Regions from separate parts of the Homo sapiens genome. Here region 1 is linked to region 2. Evidence: promoter capture Hi-C in 16 types of primary human blood cells and fetal thymus (Javierre and others, 2016). All regions are on one chromosome and are shown on one strand. Each heading gives the region's core, a stretch centred on a gene start or on the middle of the fragment in contact. The rest is flanking DNA. Distances are from core to core; before and after follow the strand shown.

The links. The method cuts DNA at HindIII sites, captures the fragments that hold promoters and counts their contacts. A CHiCAGO score of 5 or more calls a contact.
Region 1: a fragment that was not itself captured here is called in contact with the fragment with the promoter of PACS2 in region 2 in 1 of 17 cell types (endothelial precursors); the score reaches 5.2 in endothelial precursors.

Annotation. Positions count from the first base shown.
Region 1 is chr14:105,355,286-105,360,125 of GRCh38, reverse strand. The region is part of intron 4 of PACS2 (phosphofurin acidic cluster sorting protein 2); the gene reads right to left. Among named protein-coding and RNA genes, the nearest start is that of TEX22, 41 kb to the left of the region's middle. The HindIII fragment of the contact is 1,978 bases long and covers 1,764-3,741 here.
Region 2 is chr14:105,312,312-105,316,567 of GRCh38, reverse strand. PACS2 (phosphofurin acidic cluster sorting protein 2) reads right to left here and starts at 1,820. Exons shown (of 25, transcript NM_001100913.3): 1 at 1,531-1,820. The coding sequence starts at 1,649. It also overlaps a transcript of BRF1 not described here. RefSeq lists silencers at 1,199-1,278, 1,509-1,598, 1,739-2,268, 2,369-2,458 and an enhancer at 803-1,454. The HindIII fragment of the contact is 4,816 bases long and covers 1-4,249 here.

The DNA.
Region 1 (4,840 bases), core at 1,503-4,002, 43 kb before region 2:
TTATTTCAATATCCGTTTTTATTGGGGTGGCCTAGAACTGAACACACAATATCTTCAAGGTCAGCCTATATGAGAGACAGCCTCCTGCTCCTAGGCCACAGACCTGTAAAGCATGTTACTGTACTGAATACTGTAGGCAATTGTTACAGATGGTAAGTATTTATGTGTCTAAACACATTTAAACACAGAAAAAGTAGGCTGGGCACGGTGGCTCATGCTTGAAATACCAACACTTGGCCGGGTACAGTGGCTCACGCCTGTAATCCCAGCACTTTGGGAGACCAAGGTGGGCGGATCGCGAGGTCAGGAGATCGAGACCATCTTGGCTAACACGGTGAAACCCCGTCTCTACTAAAAATACAGAAAATTAGCCAGGCGTAGTGGCGGGCGCCTGTAGTCCCAGCTACTCGGGAGGCTGAGGCAGGAGAATGGCGTGAACCTGGGAGGTGGAGGTTGCAGTGAGCTGAGATTGCGGCACTGCACTCCAGCCTGGGCGACAGAGCGAGATTCTGTCTCAAAAAAAAAAAAAAAAAAAAAAGAAAGAAATACCAACACTTTGGGAGGCCCAGATAGACAGATCACTTGAGGTCAGGAGTTCAAGACCAGCCTGGACAACAGGGTGAAACCCTGTCTCCACTAAAAATAAAAAAATTAGTTGGGTGTGGTGATGAGCACCTGTAATCCCAACCACTCGGGAGGCGGAGGAAGGAGAATCACTTGAACCCGGGAGGTGGAGGTTGCAGTGAACTGAGATCGCGCCACTGCACTATAAAAGTGAAACCACATCACGAAAAAAATTTAAAAATAAAAAGCAAAAAAAAAAAAGCACAGTAAAAATAAAGTATAAAAGACATTAAGTGGTGCCTGTGAATAGGGCACTGACGATGGCAGAGCCTGCGGGGCTGGAGGTGGCTCTGGACAAGCTGGTGGGTGAGTGAGTAATGCGAAGGCCTGGGAGGTCACCACGCACCGCCGCGTAGGGGTGGACGTGTGTGTGGATGCGAAGGCCTGGGAGGTCGCCATGCACCGCCGTGTAGGGATGGACGTGTGTGTGACCAGGCCCTGGACACCTGGGCCACACTGAGTTCACACAGGAATAAAGTAACTGTGCTATGGTGTTACGATGGCTACCATGTCATCAGGAGATAGGAAGTGTCCAGTGCCATCATATTCTCACGGGGCCACCCATTGATATGCAGCCCACACCTGACTGGGCTGTCATCAGCAGCCTGTGGCTGTGCAGACACTCATAGAGAGAAACTAAAGGGAATCCAGCATGCAAACGGTCAGGGTGACGCTCCCGCGCTGTCCTTACCCTGAGGTCTTCCTGTGTCCCACCATGAGCCGCCCGCCCCTCACAGGTCCCCTTGGGCTGGACCTGGCCCCAGTGGCATGTGCAGCTTGTGGCGAGGCCACAAGAGGAGTCCGGCTGTGCAAAGAAGCATGGCTGCTCCCTCAGCCACCACCGCACTCCCAGGTCACCCCTTCGCCTGGTCATGGGTCTGTCAACCTTCCTGTCTTGTCGGGGAGCCCACAGGCCCCAGCCTCAGACAATGGCCACCAGCTGGCATGCCTGCGTCTCCCAGGCTGCAGCCCCAGGGTGGTCTGGCCACACGAACGCCCACCCCTACACACTCCCTCTACGGGTGCTGGGGTGAGTTCTGAGAGCCACACCACAGGAGAAGGCCCCACGTCTGCCCCCACCGCACACCTGCCTCTGCGGAGCTGCCTCTGAGAGGGACCACCTGCAGTCAGCTCAAGCTTCCTGAGAAGTGGCAGGCAGAGGCGCGTGCCCAGCAGGCCCTGGGGCTGCGGTCACTCCTGATGGTCCCAGCCAGAACTGCTGGTCAGCCTGCAGACCTAAGCCACCCCACGCCGGCGTCCAGCTCCTGGCACCCATGAGGCCCGGCCCCTACCCTGGGCCACCTTGGACTCCACTTCCTCAGCCTCAGAGTAAGTCCAGGGCTCTGGGCCTCAGCTCACACAGAATGAGTGCCAGGTGAGGGCAGAGCTATGGTGTGGCAGGGGCCCAGGCTGCTCCCAGCCCCTCCTGCCCCCTGCGTGTGCACCCATTTGAAGGGAGATGACACCTGTGTCCCCACAGCCATCGCCTCCTGGTCTCCCCACAGCCTGGAGGTCCTGGGCAGGTGCCCCCCACATCCTCTCCCACCACACTCTCAGCCCTGGCCTCGAGTCCGCCCAACAGCCCGCCTCACCCCACCCTGTGCCCTCAAGGACCCTTCCCCACCGCCGAGCACTACTCTCAAATGCATGGCGCCAGCCTCACCGACACCCCACTCTCACGACAGTCCCTATGGCAGCACCCATGCCCTCACCCCCGTCTCAGGCGTGCAGTCTCGGAGCCAGCAAGCCCCCATGGCACAGCTGCCTGAGCCCAGCTGGTGAGAGCCCCCCACCTCTGCCACCTGTGTCCGTCTGTGCCCTCGGGGCTGTCCCGCCTCCGCAATCTCCCGTGCTCATACTCTCAACAAGCCAGCAACGCTCACAGGTGGGAACCAGCCCCAAAAGGTGGCAGGACACAGGGAGCCCATGAACCGCCCTGGTGCTCGGGGACACATGGGAGGACCCAACTAGGTTCTGGGACCAGGCTGCCAGTGGAAGGTGGAAGGATGCCCCGAGGGCCTGGAGGAGATGCTGGAGGGGAGAGCGAGGAGCAGTCAGATGACCTCGGCTTTGGAAGCCACAGGTGCAGGGCGAGGGAGCCTTGGGGTGGGGGCCACAGGCTCAGGGGCAGGGCACTGGAACTACATCCAGGGGTGGGGCTTTTCTGCCAAGAGTGAAGAACAGATGATGGGATTTCAAGCAGCAGACGATGTGGCTGGTGTGACCTGGGGTGGGGGAAGGTTGCTCCAGCCTCTCCCCGGGGATCAGGAGGGGACAGCCCAAGGCTGGGAGGACAGGTGAGGGAGGGGCCTGGGAGCAGAGGCCAGCATTCAGGGCAAGGACGTCAAACACAGAAGCACCAGTGCTGAGAGGGGCTGGGAGGAGCCGCCTGGGGCACTGGGGTGCAGACTGAGAGATGTGGGCGGAGCAGCCTGGGGCAGGAGCTCACAGGGACCGGCAGGGATCAGCAGGACATCACCTGCATGGCTACACAGGGACCAGCAGGGATCAGCAGGACATCGCCTGCATGGCTAATGGGAAACACAGGGACCGGCAGGGATCAGCAGGACATCGCCTGCATGGCTAATGGGAAACACAGGGACCAGCAGGGATCAGCAGGACATCGCCTGAATGGCTAATGGGAAACACAGGGACCGGCAGGGATCAGCAGGACATCGCCTGCATGGCTAATGGGAAACACAGGGACCGGCAGGGATCAGCAGGACCTCGCCTGCATGGCTAATGGGAAACACAGGGACCGGCAGGGATCAGCAGGACCTCGCCTGCATGGCTAATGGGAAACACAGGGACCGGCAGGGATCAGCAGGACCTCGCCTGCATGGCTAATGGGAAACAGAGCCTGCATGACCTCCCCACAGTGCCTGGACCCTCCTGCTCCACAGGAAGCAAGCGGTGGCTCCCAGGAGGCTCTCACAGCCCAGAGAGCATCCCTGAGCTACCTGTTCACCCATCGCTCAGCCTGCAGGAGGGAGGCTGGGATGATGGGCAGCTCCAGGCCACCAGAGGGGTCCCAGGGCCCTGGGAAGTGCAGCCTGGAGGCCCGGTCCACCCGTGCTGTCCGTGGTTTGCCGAAGGAATCGGGAAGACTGCAAAGCTTGTCTGAGGCCCTGCGGCGGCACGGAGAAGCGAGGCCTCGGGACGCCACTGCTGCTTCCTGTACCCTCCACGCTCCCATCTCCTGGGGTAGCAGGGAGGGCTGAGCCCAGAGTAGTACTTGGCACTTGTCCTGGATGCGTAAGTGGGGGTGTGTGAGGATCTGGGGGACCTAGCGCTTGACCTGGGAGACAGGAGGCCTGCAGGCTGGGCCTGGGGGTGTGGGGGAACCAGCTACAAGTGGGCACCCCCACTGTCCCAGCCCCAAGCCCCAGGAGCAGGGGGACAAAGTGGGAAGAAGAGGGGCTGGGGGGCTCTGGCATCTCCGGCTCCCAATGAGGGGCTGCGCTGGCTGACCTTCCCAGGCCCCAGGCAGGCAGCAACCCAGCTTCACATGCCCCAAGCACCACTCACGCCCGCAGCCCCTGGACCCCTGAACACAACCCCACGATGGGGAAAGTTCTGAAGCAAAAGAGACAAACTGGTCTGGGGCCCTGGGCTGCCCCTTCTCCCAGAGCCAATCTTGCAGCCCCGAAAGGGTCCATGAGAAAGTCCGAGGCCTCAGCCTGGGGTGTCTTCTCCCAGGCCCCCACGCCCTACTGCAGCCTCCTTGGAACGCTGGGTTCTCTGGAGCAAGGTGGGCTGCTGCTTGGCTGTTTCTTTTCCTTTTGAGGTACTTCCCCTTCTTTCCCCTCCAGGGAACTCCAGCCACCCCTCTGACCTCTGGGTGCTGCCCCCGCCCTGCTCGGGTATTGTCGCTAGCCCCTTCACAGAACTGACACCTGTCCTGCTCCTGCTCAGCCAATCCTGGGCCAGAGCACGTGCTGAGCAGGATGCAGACACGAACCCATCACAGGACGCACCCGTGGTGTGGGGACAGCAGCGATTCCTCCATGGGAAGGACTCCAGAGCAGCCTGACCCAAAACCCAGCCTCCACTGAAGGGCAGGACAGGCTCGTTAGAGGGGAGTGCGCGCGGCTGCAGGCATGCGGGGAGCCATGCTAGGCGGCAAGGGAAGGTCAGAGAGGAAGCACCACCTGGGGCCGCACCTGGCCCTTATGGCGGAGCCCGGCCGCCCAGGCTCCTCTCATCATTTTCACCT
Region 2 (4,256 bases), core at 571-3,070:
TTCGGAGGGCCCCAGGAAGCTGCTGCAGAGGTTCAGCAAGGGCAGGCTATGTGCTGCAGTGCTGGAGCAGGGGAGCGCCAACAGCCCGCATGAAGGTTCTGGGGCTGTGGGTGAGGCAGTGACTCAGAGGGGCAGACAGGAGAAGGGCTGTGGGGCTGTGGGACCTGACATTGGGGCAATCGCCAAGACCTGGAATGGAGAAGCAGCCAGGCCTGGGGAGATGCTCCTGGCTTTGGCTTTGAGGCCCCAGAGACTTCCCAGAAGAGAGGCAAGCAGGCACATCTGCAGTGCTCGGCCCCAGACCTTGGGCAAATGCTGACCCTTAGGTCTCATATGGACACTGGGTCCTTCGGGAGGCCCCGCCAGGTGCAAGAGTCGTGCCGGGTGGGCATCCTTCCTGTCCACTCAGCAAAACCAAAGCCCCGAGGTCCCAACCCTGCGCTCCAGGAGGGCAAGCCCCACTGTCCAGCGGCTCTGCAACTCCAACACCACGCTCAGAGATGCAGGCTGTGGGAGCCACAGGAAAGCACGGAGAGGCCCACCTGCAGCTGACTAGGGGTGGAACAACTCAATGCCACGTGGGGTCCCCTCCAGGCATACTGGCCACTTCCAGTGCCTGGAAGGTCCGCTCACCCTCCCATCTCCCCAGGGAGAACTCTCACTACCCCCAACCGCCTCCTCTTCTCGCCTGCTGTCTATTCTAGAACCAGAACTTTTCCGGAGAGCGTGTCTCTCTCCTCCTTAGCCTGGGAGCTTCCTGAGCAGGAACTACCAAGTCACGAAGAAATTACAAAAGTTTCAAACTGAGCAGGAGACTCAGGGAAGCTGCAAGTCCAAGGAAGGCTGGGCTATGGCCGGAGGGTAAACCCTGTCCAATCGTTACCGCTGGGCGACCGGGCGCCCCCCTACCAAGTGCAGAACAGCCAGTCTTCCGCAATGGCAAGATCAACTGGGAGGCGCAAATAGCAGTACTGGCTTGGCGACGCCTCTAAATGAGAGACAGCGCCAACCAGGTACCCGCGAGGACGACCCCGCCCCGCAGGACAGGGCATCTCCACCGCGCGCTGGACGGAGGATACAACCGAGTCCTGCGCGCCCCGTGCGCCGGGGGTCGCTCCCAGGCCGAGGTCTGACAGTGTCGCCGAACGCGAAAGGAAGCGTGTGGTACCCGAGAGAGGAAGCACCCTCGTCACCCCGGCCGGCACCGCATTGAGGCAGGTGTGCAGGTGCGGTTGCGGCGAGCCAGGTGAGCGCCGCCCGGGAGCCCCAAGGTCCCGCCGGGTCTGAGCAGCACCGGGTCCTCGGAAGCTGAGCGCGGCCCCCGGTGCTCGGGACCTGGGGGGCTGGGGCCGCGCTTGCCGGAGCTGCGGGGGGGCGGCGGCTGCACGCGTCGAACCGGCGGGCGGGGGCGCGGGGGGCGACCTGGGCTCCGCTGGGGGACCCGGGCCGGGGATGGGGCGCGCAGAGGCCGCGGCCAGGACACCCCCAGCAGGTGCCCGGCGGGAACAAAGCGCGGCGGGCGGCGCGTACCTGGGCACGCAGCTGGGGCTGGAGCCGTCCACCTCCCAGGTGGCGAACAGGTTCATGGGCACGGGCGTGTTGAGCGCGCCGGGCGCGCCGGGGAGGCCGAGGCGGCCTCGCTCGGCCATGGCGCCGGCCCCGCCGCTCCCTCGGCGGCCTGGGGCTGCGGCCGGGCCGCGGACGCGCGGCGGGCGGGCCGGGCGCGCGGAGGGCGGCGGCGCGGTCACATGGCTGCCGGGCGGCGGAGGGGACGGGCCGGGCCCCGGCGTCGGACAGGCCCGCGGGCGGCGACGAGCTGCGGCCGCTCCGCCCCGCCCCGCCCGGCGCCCCGCCCGCGCCCCGCGCGCCCCCGGCCGCCCCGCGCGCGCCCGGCGCCCTCCGACCCGCGCCGGCGCCGCCGATTGGCTGGGCGGGGCGCCAGCTCGCCGCCTCGGGTCCAATCGCCGCCGGCGCAGCGCGCGCCGGAAGTGAGGTGCGCGCGCGCTTCCTCCGGCGGCGCCTCACGGGGCGTCCCCGCCCGCCGGTGCGCGAGAGCGCGCACTCACGCGCCTGCGCACAGACCCCGCCCGGGGCGCCCCGCCCCGCCCCCCGGGAGCCGCGGGCAAGGGCCGGGAGAGTCGTGGGGGTCCACCGGGTCCCGGCCAGCTTCAGGCGCCGCCCCCTAAGGAAAGCTCATCGTCGCCCTGGCGATGCCCACCTCCCCACGCGCGGATTCCCCGGCCTCGACACTTTCCCGCCTCCACCCCGCCATGCCCCGAGTCTCCCCGCCCCCCTGCCCTCGCCGCCCCTTGTCTCCTGCCGACCCCCGCTGGGTTGGCCCGGCTGTGCGGGCCCCGCCCGTCCCCGAGCCCCTCCCTCGCGCCCCCCTGCGTGGGTTCCCCGGGACGCAGGGAGGTGGCAAGGAGGTGGCCGGGCCTGGCGGCGGTCGCGGGGACTCGAAGCCACTCGGGGCGCCAGGCTGCCGAGCTTAGCCTCCAGGGCTCCAGATGACCCCGGGCGCCCTCTTTGCGTCCCAGCATCCTTATTCAGCGCCGCTTTTCAGCGTTGTGCTCAGGACAATGGAGAACAAATGTCTGGGGCCAAGGCTGGCTCCTGGCCCTGGGGTTAACAGTGAACTTGGGGACCCAAGCAAAGAGGAGGCAATGGCTAGAGCCGCTGGGGCCCGACGTGTAGGCTCTGGGGCTCAGGGAGGGTGCTTCCCCCATCTGTTTGGCAGCGGCTGTGGTCCAGCACCAGATGCCAAGCCGAGATTTAGGAAACGGTTTTCTGGCCTCTCTTCTGTTTCCTTGTTTCACAGTTAGTTTACAGTTGCTTTTCTCTTCGCCCTGTGTCTTGTCTACAAGTAGTTTTACTGAAACAAATCCAGCCCGAGCAAATTGACCTGGAGCTGGTTTCTTTCCTGGCCCACGGGGCTTGCCACCCCAGTGCCCCGTCAGCTCCTTCTGCAAAGGCCCTCATGCCGCTGCTTCCTCCGTTGAGAGAGCTCAGCCTCCAGCTGTAACTCCTGTATCTAGAACTGCAAACAGCTGCGACTGCTTAAAGTCAGGGTCCCACTTCGGAGAGAACAAGGGACTCTGTGTTTCCCACGCGCCCCTGGCTCCTCTAAGGTGGTACACTGAGAGCCATGAGGGTCTGTCTGACCTTGGCCAGCTGCTCGGCGGGCAGAGGGCCGGTGGATCTCATACCTTTGAGACAGGGTAGGGGGAGAAGTGACTATGTCCAGAGAGGGGGTAGCCATACCCCAGGAGGACAGGCTGTCTGTGATGGGAGGGCAGGAGACAGGCACCCATTGACCCCAGAACTGAGCGTACGGCGCTGCTGGACCTGGCGAGCGTGCAGTTGCAGTCAGACGGATGGGCCGCCTGACACATGGTGCCTGTGTATGCCAGCGTCTAACCCAGGCAGGGACTACAACTGGGGGTCAAGTGAGGAGATGCGGGGTGACTAAGCCGTGCACAGCAGGGCTTGGCACCAGCTGCCACCATTGAGCGGTGCCCCTCCTCTGTGCCAGGCACCGTTGTGAGCCCTTAAGGGACGTGACAGTTCTGTCCCATCCCAAGTGACAAAAGAGGAGATGGCGGCCTGTGAGGTTATGCAGCTGCCAGGGGTCGGGATATGACCCACACAGTCTGTACCAGAGTGGCCCGAAGAACCCGTATGGTGGGTCTACATCAATGCTTCTGCCAGGCAGGAAAGCAGGGACACGAAACACACCATGTGTCACGCCTGCGACCACGTTTATGTTTGTTTTTAAGGTGGGATGGTGGTGATGGGACTGTGGTCTTCTGTATTTTCCAAGTGCACAGATGTCCCTTGGGTGATCAGAGTAACTTTTTAGCCAGAACTTGTTATTTGCACTGCCCTCCTCTGTCGGAAAATGATGCTGTGCTGGTCCTTCTCTTGAGGGCTGTGGGTCACAGGAGGAGATCCCCTGAAGGCTGGGAGGCATCCCTCCCCATGCTATGACCCTGGCATGGTGTGAGCCCTCACCCCCGTGTTTGGAGCACAGGTGCTTTCTCTGGTAGCGTTTTCTTTAAAGCAGGAACTTGGTTTGAGACAAACCTCTCGGATGACTGGGGTGGCTGGGCACGGTTGGGGAGGAGGTCCAAGAAGAGGATCCTTCAGAGCCCTGGGGTCTCAGGAGGACAACCTGAAAGCTGGTCCTACCACGTGCTGCCCGGGGTCCCCGGAGGTTGTGGGAGTTATTATTATTTAAGAAGTTAAAGCTTCAAGGT